Linked DNA regions of Homo sapiens: regions 1 and 3 are each linked to region 2. Evidence: promoter capture Hi-C in human tissues and cell types (Jung and others, 2019). All regions are on one chromosome and are shown on one strand. Each heading gives the region's core, a stretch centred on a gene start or on the middle of the fragment in contact. The rest is flanking DNA. Distances are from core to core; before and after follow the strand shown.

Evidence for each region. The method cuts DNA at HindIII sites, captures the fragments that hold promoters and counts their contacts. A contact is called where the count stands out against the background at its distance.
Region 1: a contact is called between a fragment that was not itself captured here and the fragment with the promoter of CSPG4 in region 2, in 1 of the 25 tissues and cell types used here (spleen).
Region 3: a contact is called between a fragment that was not itself captured here and the fragment with the promoter of CSPG4 in region 2, in 1 of the 25 tissues and cell types used here (lymphoblastoid cells).

Annotation. Positions count from the first base shown.
Region 1 is chr15:76,133,332-76,136,826 of GRCh38, reverse strand. TMEM266 (transmembrane protein 266) reads right to left here. Exons shown (of 11, transcript NM_152335.5): 2 at 2,526-2,659. The coding sequence starts at 2,539. Among named protein-coding and RNA genes, the nearest start is that of TMEM266, 75 kb to the right of the region's middle. The HindIII fragment of the contact is 8,709 bases long and covers 1-3,495 here.
Region 2 is chr15:75,710,919-75,714,336 of GRCh38, reverse strand. CSPG4 (chondroitin sulfate proteoglycan 4) reads left to right here and starts at 1,489. Exons shown (of 10, transcript NM_001897.5): 1 at 1,489-1,669. The coding sequence starts at 1,582. The HindIII fragment of the contact is 20,321 bases long and covers 1-3,418 here.
Region 3 is chr15:75,440,627-75,444,087 of GRCh38, reverse strand. The region is part of intron 1 of SIN3A (SIN3 transcription regulator family member A); the gene reads left to right. Among named protein-coding and RNA genes, the nearest start is that of SIN3A, 9.3 kb to the left of the region's middle. RefSeq lists a silencer at 2,936-3,085. The HindIII fragment of the contact is 9,103 bases long and covers 1-3,461 here.

The sequences.
Region 1 (3,495 bases), core at 650-3,149, 420 kb before region 2:
GCAATATGTCAATAACGACTAAAAACTGTCCTGCCCACATACCCACAGCAACCCTGTCCAGAGATGCTGGACTAGAAAACTTCCCCTTAGCTTCCTGGGGCACCATCTTCGGTCCATCCAGTATGTCCTTGACCCTATCTCATCCTGTAGAATCTGAGGGGCTCAGTCTTGTGCCTCTGTCCAAACAATGAGAGTTAGAAAGGAACAATTGTATAATGGCAAGGAGTAAAATTTAAATATTGGAGGGAACATTGAGGGTCAGTGCCCAGGGTAATGAGGGCCCAGTTTTAATACTGAGATGGCAGTCCTCTCTGCTGTAAACTGCTCTTGGGCTCTGGTGCTGGTTTGAATGCCAACTTCTGCAGGGCTCCTCCTGAACCTCAGTTTCTCCAATCAGAACATGAGGAGGTAAAATAGAATATTCCTAAGGGCTGTTCCTTCTCACTATGATCTGACATAGGTGACAGACATATGGAGAAGATCGGAGGAGCTCCAGAGTGACAAGTCCCTATACTTGTGTGGGAGCTCTAAATTCTAAACTTTTCCAACAACCATTGAAATCTAACCAATAATACACAGCTGCAGGCCGGGCATGGTGGCTCACGCCTGTAATCCCAACACTTTGGGAGGCCAAGGCAGGTGGATCACCTGAGGTTAGGAGTTCAAGACCAGCCTGACCAGCATGGTGAAACCGTCTCTACTAAAAATACACAAAATTAGCCGGATGTGGTGGCGCATGCCTGTAATCCCAGCTACTTGGGAGGCTGAGGCAGGAGAATCGCTTGAACCCGGGAGATGGAGGTTGCAGTGAGCTGAGATTGGGCCATTGCACTCCAGCCTGGGCAACAAGAGTGAAACTCTATCTCAAAAGAAAAAAAAAAAAACCCACAGCTGCAGTTATCCCGGAAGTTCAGAGATTAATATACCTACTTCTCTTTTGCTTGGATTATCCGATAACTAAGGAGAAAGTGAGATTTTTATTTGAATGCCACAGCCTGGCTGCCTAGACCACCTGAATTCACCAAGTAATTTCTAATGCCCAATTCTCATTTGTAGGCTTTATTTAAACCTTTGCTTTTTGCTACCTGTCAAGCACAGATAATAGTACTCATCATTGCTTGACATTTACAAAATGACTCAAGATCTTTAAACGAAACAGAATGTGAGGTTTCAGTGTTTCTCAACAATTGATATAAAAGTGTGGGTGTTTATGGGGGGAATCCCAGCTCCCCCAGATGGTTCCCAAAAAGCAGATGCTGGGTTGAATTTGTTCTCTTTTCTTCTGGACTACTCAAGGAAACTATGGATCACTGAACTAAACAAAGAGAACTTTCTGATCAATAAGAGAAATTAACAGGATATGGCTCTAAGAAGTGCGAACAAACTATTTCTGGCTTTCCAACGTTTCTGCCTCACGTTCCCCTTCCATCAGTGGTCCCAGCGGCCCGGCACCATCTCTGGCCATGTGGTGGTCACCTCAGCAGAGAGACAAGGCCCCCTCTGGTGAGGTGAAGGTCCCACAGTGTATAGGCTATATTTAGCCTACACCCTTTCCTTAGATACAAAGAACGGTATGGTAGACAAAATGTATTAATGGTTCTATTCTTTACCTCTCCTTGAGCCTATGCCCTTTGGCATATAACTTCATAGCTCCTTCCATCAAAAATGCTGAACGCTTGATTCAGCATTCAGCCATGTGACTTGTTTTTGCCAACGAGATGTTAGATGGTAGAAGAGCCAGGTTAGACACCAGCAGAGGCATGAAAAGGCTCTGTGAATTTCTGCCTGTGCTCTTGTACCTCCAACATCACCCATGAGAGGGTGAGCAGCCTAGCCTACTGGAGGATGAGAGACGTGGAGCAGAGTCCAGCCTCCTCTAGATCAGCTGACAGCCAGCTATCACCCACATTTAAAAGTCATCCCAGCCAAGATCAGAGGAGCTGTCTAGCTGAGTACCCCAGACATGTGAGCAATAAACATTTTTTGTTGTATTCTACTAAGGTTCTATGGTTGGTTGTTACACAGCATTACTGTGTCAATAGATAACAGATTCATACTCCAGATGACAGAGCAGTCAGGCCCATATCTAGATAGGCCAGGACAGTGTGGTGTAATAGAATGAGTGCTGTTTTCATCTTAGTATTCATACCAACCAGTTGCAAAACACAAAATAAGTGACCACCTTGCAGGTGCTTGGTAAGATTAAGTGATTGGTTCATATGGCATCTCAGGTTTTGGGAAATGAAAGCAATTCTCCCTTAAGAATTCTGCCCCGGGTTTCATAAAGCCTGGTTTTAGAAACCCTCTCAGATTTCTAAATTTCCTTGCGATTCCCATTTTATTAATTCACCTTCAGCGCTTCCTAATCTTGTCTTGAGTCTTGCTTTTGAAAGGTTTCTCCATTTTCTGTGGCCTCCTGCTAAAGGAAATGTACATAGTGGCTGCCTAAATTAGAAGATCTTCATCTTCTGGGAGATTTATAGCCACAGTTCTGGATCCAGAGAGCAGATCCCAGCATTACTTACTGTGGATTGGTCATGTTGAAAGATGGAGCCACAGCCATGGGTTTTCTTGGTGTTTAGTGGGGCTCAGCTGTCCTGAAGCCTGCTGTCAGCATTTCCAAGCGTGGGTTCTACAAGACACATACAAATATAGTGCCCTGAAAACAAAAATAGGAACTTATTACCTTCAGATGCCAAACCAAAGTCCTCCTAAGCTCATCTAAAAATGGGAGTCCTTAGAACTTTCTTCCATCTAGCACTTTTCTTCAAAGTAATGTTGAATAGATTCTTACAATTACCCTATGGAAGAGTAATAATAAGCATAATTTCTCTTTTTTAGATGAGGAAACAAGGCCAGAGTGACAAAATGACTTTTTTGTGTCACAGAGATGGTAGAAGAGCCAGGTTAGTGCCCAGGTTCTCTGACTTCTCATCCACAGTTCTTCCCACTAAACTGCTGTGCCCCCCAAAACAGCATCCCTTTATACTGCAGCTTTGAGAGGCTTCAAAATAAGGTTTGTCTAAAAAATCTCAAATGTTTTCCATGTATTTTTTCTCCCACTTCCCTTTCCCTTCCAGTAGTTCTGTCTTTTCATGCAGGCTTTTCTCTTCTTCTCCTCTCAGCTCATTCCGAGAGCGGAGAGAAAGAATAGATCCTGGAGCTGGGCTGCCACAGTCAGAGCCTCACTCCCACCTACTAGCTCTGTGACCTGGAGTGAGCTACTTACACCCCCATCCTCAGTTTCCCCACCTGAAAAATGGGGATAATAACAGAACTAACTACATGAGGTCATGCCTGTAAGACACTAGCATAGCGTCTGACACTTAGTAAGTACTATATAAGTGTTGGATTTCATTATTATTATTTATTTTATTTATTTATTTTTTTTAGATGGAGTTTCACTCTTGTCACCCAGGCTGCAGGGCAATGGCATGATATCAGCTCACTGCAACCTCGCCTCCTGGGTTAAAGCGATTCTCCTGCCTCAGCCTC
Region 2 (3,418 bases), core at 240-2,739:
GACGGAGGAGAAAGGATAAGCATTTATTGAGCACCTACCGTATGCCAGGCCCTGGGCTAGGGACTTGAGGTACATTAAAGCATTTAATCCTCATTAACCCAATTTTACAAATGAGGAAACTGCCACAGAGAGGTGAGGGGACTTGTTCAAGGTTTGACAACCAAGTAAGGGAGCTGGGATTTGAACCCAGGTCTCTCTGGTTTCAAGACCAATACTCATAACCCCCACATGGACCAGGCACCATCACACCTGAGCACTGCACTTAGGGTCAAAGACCTGGCCCCACATCTCAGCAGCTATGTAGACTAGCTCCAGTCCCTTAATCTCTCTCAGCCTCAGTTTCTTCATCTGCAAAACAGGTCTCAGTTTCGTTGCAAAGTATGAAGTGCTGGGCTGTTACTGGTCAAAGGGAAGAGCTGGGAAGAGGGTGCAAGGTGGGGTTGGGCTGGAGATGGGCTGGAGCAGATAGATGGAGGGACCTGAATGGAGGAAGTAAACCAAGGCCCGGTAACATTGGGACTGGACAGAGAACACGCAGATCCTCTAGGCACCGGAAGCTAAGTAACATTGCCCTTTCTCCTCCTGTTTGGGACTAGGCTGATGTTGCTGCCTGGAAGGGAGCCAGCAGAAGGGCCCCAGCCTGAAGCTGTTAGGTAGAAGCCAAATCCAGGGCCAGATTTCCAGGAGGCAGCCTCGGGAAGTTGAAACACCCGGATTCAGGGGTCAGGAGGCCTGGGCTTCTGGCACCAAACGGCCAGGGACCTACTTTCCACCTGGAGTCTTGTAAGAGCCACTTTCAGCTTGAGCTGCACTTTCGTCCTCCATGAAATGGGGGAGGGGATGCTCCTCACCCACCTTGCAAGGTTATTTTGAGGCAAATGTCATGGCGGGACTGAGAATTCTTCTGCCCTGCGAGGAAATCCAGACATCTCTCCCTTACAGACAGGGAGACTGAGGTGAGGCCCTTCCAGGCAGAGAAGGTCACTGTTGCAGCCATGGGCAGTGCCCCACAGGACCTCGGGTGGTGCCTCTGGAGTCTGGAGAAGTTCCTAGGGGACCTCCGAGGCAAAGCAGCCCAAAAGCCGCCTGTGAGGGTGGCTGGTGTCTGTCCTTCCTCCTAAGGCTGGAGTGTGCCTGTGGAGGGGTCTCCTGAACTCCCGCAAAGGCAGAAAGGAGGGAAGTAGGGGCTGGGACAGTTCATGCCTCCTCCCTGAGGGGGTCTCCCGGGCTCGGCTCTTGGGGCCAGAGTTCAGGGTGTCTGGGCCTCTCTATGACTTTGTTCTAAGTCTTTAGGGTGGGGCTGGGGTCTGGCCCAGCTGCAAGGGCCCCCTCACCCCTGCCCCAGAGAGGAACAGCCCCGCACGGGCCCTTTAAGAAGGTTGAGGGTGGGGGCAGGTGGGGGAGTCCAAGCCTGAAACCCGAGCGGGCGCGCGGGTCTGCGCCTGCCCCGCCCCCGGAGTTAAGTGCGCGGACACCCGGAGCCGGCCCGCGCCCAGGAGCAGAGCCGCGCTCGCTCCACTCAGCTCCCAGCTCCCAGGACTCCGCTGGCTCCTCGCAAGTCCTGCCGCCCAGCCCGCCGGGATGCAGTCCGGGCCGCGGCCCCCACTTCCAGCCCCCGGCCTGGCCTTGGCTTTGACCCTGACTATGTTGGCCAGACTTGCATCCGCGGGTGAGTGAGGGGCCTGAGACCCCGACCCAGCCTGGCGGAACTAGAGGGGTTCCTCCGGGAGGGAAAAGGGACAGGAGGAGCCAGAAGTGGCCCCCAGATCGGGAGTCAAGCAGGCTGCGCTTCTCCCACCACTAGCTGGGGTCGCCAGGGGTTCAATCCTGGGGCGGACACGGGACCCCGCTATCTCAGGTTATGGGGTTTCTAGCTAGCCAAGGCTGTCCAGTTAGGGGCGGGAGCAGGCGCCCCAGGCATGGATTGCCTAGGGCGTGGCTTTGCCCGTTTGGATTGTCTGAGACACCAGTGGGGCCACCCCAATGCTGGCCGAGCTTTGTTTGCCAGGCAAGTTTGGGGTGAGTATGTTGGGGTCCAAAGGGACCCGGCGACAGTGAGAAGTGGGTCCTCCAGCTTCAGATGCCCTGGGCCAGGAATGGGGAGTGCTACAAGGTGGGAAACGAGGAATGAGCCACCCTGCCCTCCCCTGTGAGGAGCACCCCCACACCCCTCCAGCTGCCCCCCAGCTCTGCCCCTTCTTTCCTCCCCTTGCTTCCTTGCAGATCCGTCTATCTGCCACCTCCCCTCTTCATTCTCTCCTCTCCCTCCTCCTGTTGGTGACAGGCAGGACCCCCCACCCACTACCCACTCTCAGCCTCCTAGAGGGAGAGCTGGTGCCCCTCAGCGGGGCTTGTCCTACAGATAGCTCTGGACCACCCCCTGCCACACCTCCTCATCCCAGCACTGATGCCTGACCCAGCAGAGGCTGAATGGAAGTTCGCTTTCCGAGAAGTGCTGGGATATATCCCCTCTCTGTCCCGATGCCAGAAACCCCAACATGACAGCATTCTTCCTTCAGCGAAGGCAGCTCTAGTTATGCCATAAGAACTGTGGCCTTAGGGCCCATCCATCATCACTACCCACGTGTGATTCAGTGCTTCAGCTACACCTTCGAGATCATTCCCAAGAGCAACATGGAGCAAAGGCAGGGCCTGAGCCTCCTTCACAAGGGCCCAGGCCACACCCTTCTCTCCTTCAGATGGAGAAGCCAGCTCTAAAAGAGGGCATCACATGGTTCCCAGAAGGGAAGTGAGTCAAGGGAGGACCCCCGCGGGGTGAATCAGGGCTGGATCTCCAGGCTCCCTGTTCCTGCAGGGACCAGATCCCCTAAGATCTCAGGGCCTGAGGGATGGGCTGGGCCGCCAGGGAGATGGGAAGGGAGCATCCAAGGTGACCAGGGTGGTCAGCTCATTCAGGCCCCAGCCTCCAGCCAAGGAGGGATTCCAGTACCCCCACCTCCTTGGGCTTCAACTGAGAGCCATTCTCAAATACCTTCTTAGCCCTGACAGCATGCAGGCATGGTGCTAGGCTCGCAGGGGCACGGGAAATTGAGAGGCTGAACTGAGACTCATTCAGGAGGCAGAAAGGCAAATTAAATCTCAAACAGCAAAAATCTGGATGAAAAGTACAGAGGGGAGAAAAGCAGGGGCAAGCTGGGGCAGGACACAGGGTGGGCCTCAAACCAAGCCTTGGTGGATGGGAAGGGAGTCAGTCCTCCAGGCAGGGGCGCTGACTCAGAGGCACCAAGGTGGGCGTAAGCAGAGGGGTGTTGAGACAGGAAGGCCAGCAGCCTGGCTGGGAGGCGTATTTCGAGCACAGGCCAGGGAGAACCACTGGGCTGGGGCACAGAAGCCTTAAATGGCAAAATGAAGCCCACGGCCTTATGCCCTGTTGGCAAAGGAGATGCCACAAGGGTTT
Region 3 (3,461 bases), core at 19-2,518, 270 kb after region 2:
TCCTGTATATTGAAATGTTTTGGTATTTCATCATCCTAGGAATTATTTCATCATTACTCATCAATTCTCAAATATGCTAAAGAGGACTAAAATAATATGACAAAGGGAGAATTATAGAATTGCTTAAAAGGATATGCAGTAGTGAAATAAATCATTAGTTTTACACTTCAGTTTTTAGAGATGGGGCCTCGCTTTGTTGCCCAGGCCGAAGGGCAGTGGTATGATCATAGCTCTCTGCAGCCTCAAACTTCTGGGCTCAAGTGATCATCCCTCCTAAGCATCCTCGGTAGCTGGGACTATAGGTGTGCACCGCAGCCCTTCAGTTTTCTTATTGCTTTTCCCAAAACTTACAGCAACTTTTTTTTTCTTTTTGGATACAGGGTCTCACTCTGTCACCCAGGCTGGAGTGCAGTGGCGCAATCTCAGTTCACTGCAACCTTCGCCTCCCAGACTCAAGCAATCTCACCTCAGCCCTCCAAGTAGCTGGGACTACAGGCATGTGCCACCACACCTGGCTAATTTTTGTATTTTTTTTGTAGAGAGAACGTTTCGCCATGTTGTCTAGGCTAGTCTCGAACTCCTGGGCTCAAACAATCCACCCACCTTAGCCTCCCAAAGTGCTGGGATTCCAGGCATGAGCCAGCATGCCCAGCCTACAGCATCTTTCAAGAAAGTATAAAAGAAGTTGGGAGATACCATCTTAAACATTATGTAAGATGTTAACATTTGGAGAATCTAGGTGAAGGAGTACATGGTAATTTTTATACTATTTTTCAACTTTTAAGCTTTCATTGGACATATTTAAAAATCCATAGTTTTTCATCTTCCTCCTATAATGGCAAAGAGAAGAAAACTGACTACAGAAGACATTTCAGAGGAACTAGTAGATGAATGCTGTGTGACAGTAGTACTCTAGACTGTTAGGATGACGGTAAAGTTATATAAACCAAGTTGTAAAATAAGAGTCTTCAGCCAGGCATGGTGGCGTGCACCTGTAATCCTAGCATCTCGGGAGGCTGAGATGGGAGGATCACTTGAGCCCAGTACTTCAAAACCAGGCTGGGCAACATAGCAAGATTCTGTCTCCACCCATATACATATGTGACTGTACCCTAGATGAGTTTAGAATGTGATTTTTTTTTTTTTTTTTTTTTTGAGACAGAGTTTTGCTCTTATTGCCCAGGCTAGAGTGCCATGGCACAATCTCGGCTCACCGCAACCTCCGCCTCCTGGGTTCAAGGGATTCTCCTGCCTTAGCCTCCCAAGTAGCTGGGATTACAGGCATGTACCACCATGCCTGGCTAATTTTTTGTATTTTTAGTAAAAGATGGGGTTTCTCCATGTTGGTCAGGCTGGTCTTGAACTCCCAACCTCAGGTGATCCACCTGCCTTGGCCTCCCAAAGTGCTGGGATTACAGTCGTGAGCCACCATGCCCAGCGGTGAATTTTTTTTTTTTTTTTTTTTTTTTTAAAGATGGGATCTATCTCACTATGTTGCCCAGGCTGGATTTAAATTCCTGAGCTCAAGCTGTTCTCCTGCTTCAGTTCCCCCAAGTAACTGGCACTATAGGCATCCAGCTAGAATGTGATTTTCTTTTTATAAGAATCAGAACTGGGCTGGGTGCAGTGGCATATGCCTGCAATCCCACCTTCTTGGGAGGCTGAGGTGGGAGGATCGCTTGAGCCCAGACGTTCGAGACCAGCCTGGGCAACATAGTGAGACCCCATTTCTATTTTTAAGAAATGAAAAAAAAAAACAATCAAAACCACTGCACTTTGCCAAAAAGATGTATGATAGTATTCTTTCATCTTTCAAGATATTTGTACACCAAAACTTAGTTGATGCAGTTTGTAAGTGGACAGGTGCCAAAGTTACGTATATGTATAAAGATGGTTAGAAGGAAAAATTATGTAAAAATGAAAAAAAAAATCAGTTTTTTTTTTTTTTTTTTTTTTTTTTTTTTTTTGAGACAGAGTCTCACTCTTGTTACCCAGGCTGGAGTGCAGTGGCATGGTCTTTGCTCACTGCAACCTCTGCCTCCTGGGTTCAAGCGATTCTCCTGCCTCAGCCTCCCGAGTAGCTGGGACTACGGGTGCGTGCCACTGCACCCAGCTAATTTTTTGTAGTTTTGGTACAGATGGGGTTTCACCGTTTTAGCCAGGATGGTCTCAATCTCCTGACCTCGTGATCCACCCGCCTCGGCCTCTGAGAGTGCTGGGATTAGAGGCAAGAGCCACACGCTCAGCCTGGATTGTTCATTCTGATTGACATTTATTAGTCTAAAAATGAGAATGCTTATGATTATGGAGCAAAGAAGATGACTGTTCTCTCCAACAAAATTATGAAGTGAGTTTTCAAAGTATTTCATTTGATGGGCAGAAAGGGAAAAAAAGACCCAGAGGTGATAAGCTAGAACCTTACTAGAGCTGTACCTGAAACCTGGAATCAAAATTTACAAAATGGAAGCCAAGCGTGGTGGTGTGTACCTGTTTACAGAGTGGAAGCCAAGTGTAGTGGTATACACCAGCTACTCGGGAGGCTGAGGCAGGAGGATCGCTTGTGGCCAGGAGTTCAAGACCGGCCTGTGCAATGTAGGGAGACCCTGTCTCTAAAAAAAATTTTTTTCTTATTAGCCACTCTGTAGTCCCAGCTACTTAGGAAGCTGAGGTGGGAGGATTGTTTGAGCCCAGCAGTCTGTAATGAGCTATGATCATGCCACTGTACTCTAGCCTGGGCAATAGAGCAAGACCCTGTTTTTTTTTTATTTTGTTTTTTGTTTTTTTGAGACGGAGTCTGGCTCTGTTGCCCACGCTGGAGTGTAGTGGCGAGATCTCGGTCAACCTCCACCTCCCAAGTTCAAGCAATTCTACTGACTCAGCTTCCTGAGTAGCTGGGATTATAGGCACACGCCACCATGCCCGGCTAATTTTTTTGTATTTTTAGTAGAGATGGGGTTTCACCATGTTGGCTAGGCTGGTCTTGAGCTCCTCACCTCACGTGATCTACCCGACTTGGCCTCCCAAAGTACTGAGATTACAGGCGTGAGCCACTGCACCTGGCCAACCCTGTTTCTTTTTCTTGTTCTTTTTTTTTTTTTTTTTTTTGAGACAGAGTCTTCGCTCTGTCACCCAGGCTGGAGTGCAGTGGCGCGATCTCAGCTCACTGCAAGCTCTGCCTTCCAGGTTCACGCCATTCTCCTGCCTCAGCCTCCCGAGCAGCTGGGACTACAGGCGCCTGCCACCACGCCTGGCTAATTTTTTGTATTTTTGGTAAAGACGGGGCTTCACCTTGTTAGCCAGGATGGTCTCGATCTCCTGACCTCGTAATCCGCCTGCCTTGGCCTTCCAAAGTGCTGGGATTACAGGCATGAGCCACCGCGCCCGACCCCTTGTTTCTTAAAAGAAACAAAAAATTTATAGAATGGCTGTGTTCCAAGTTCATGCATGACATTTGATGAGTA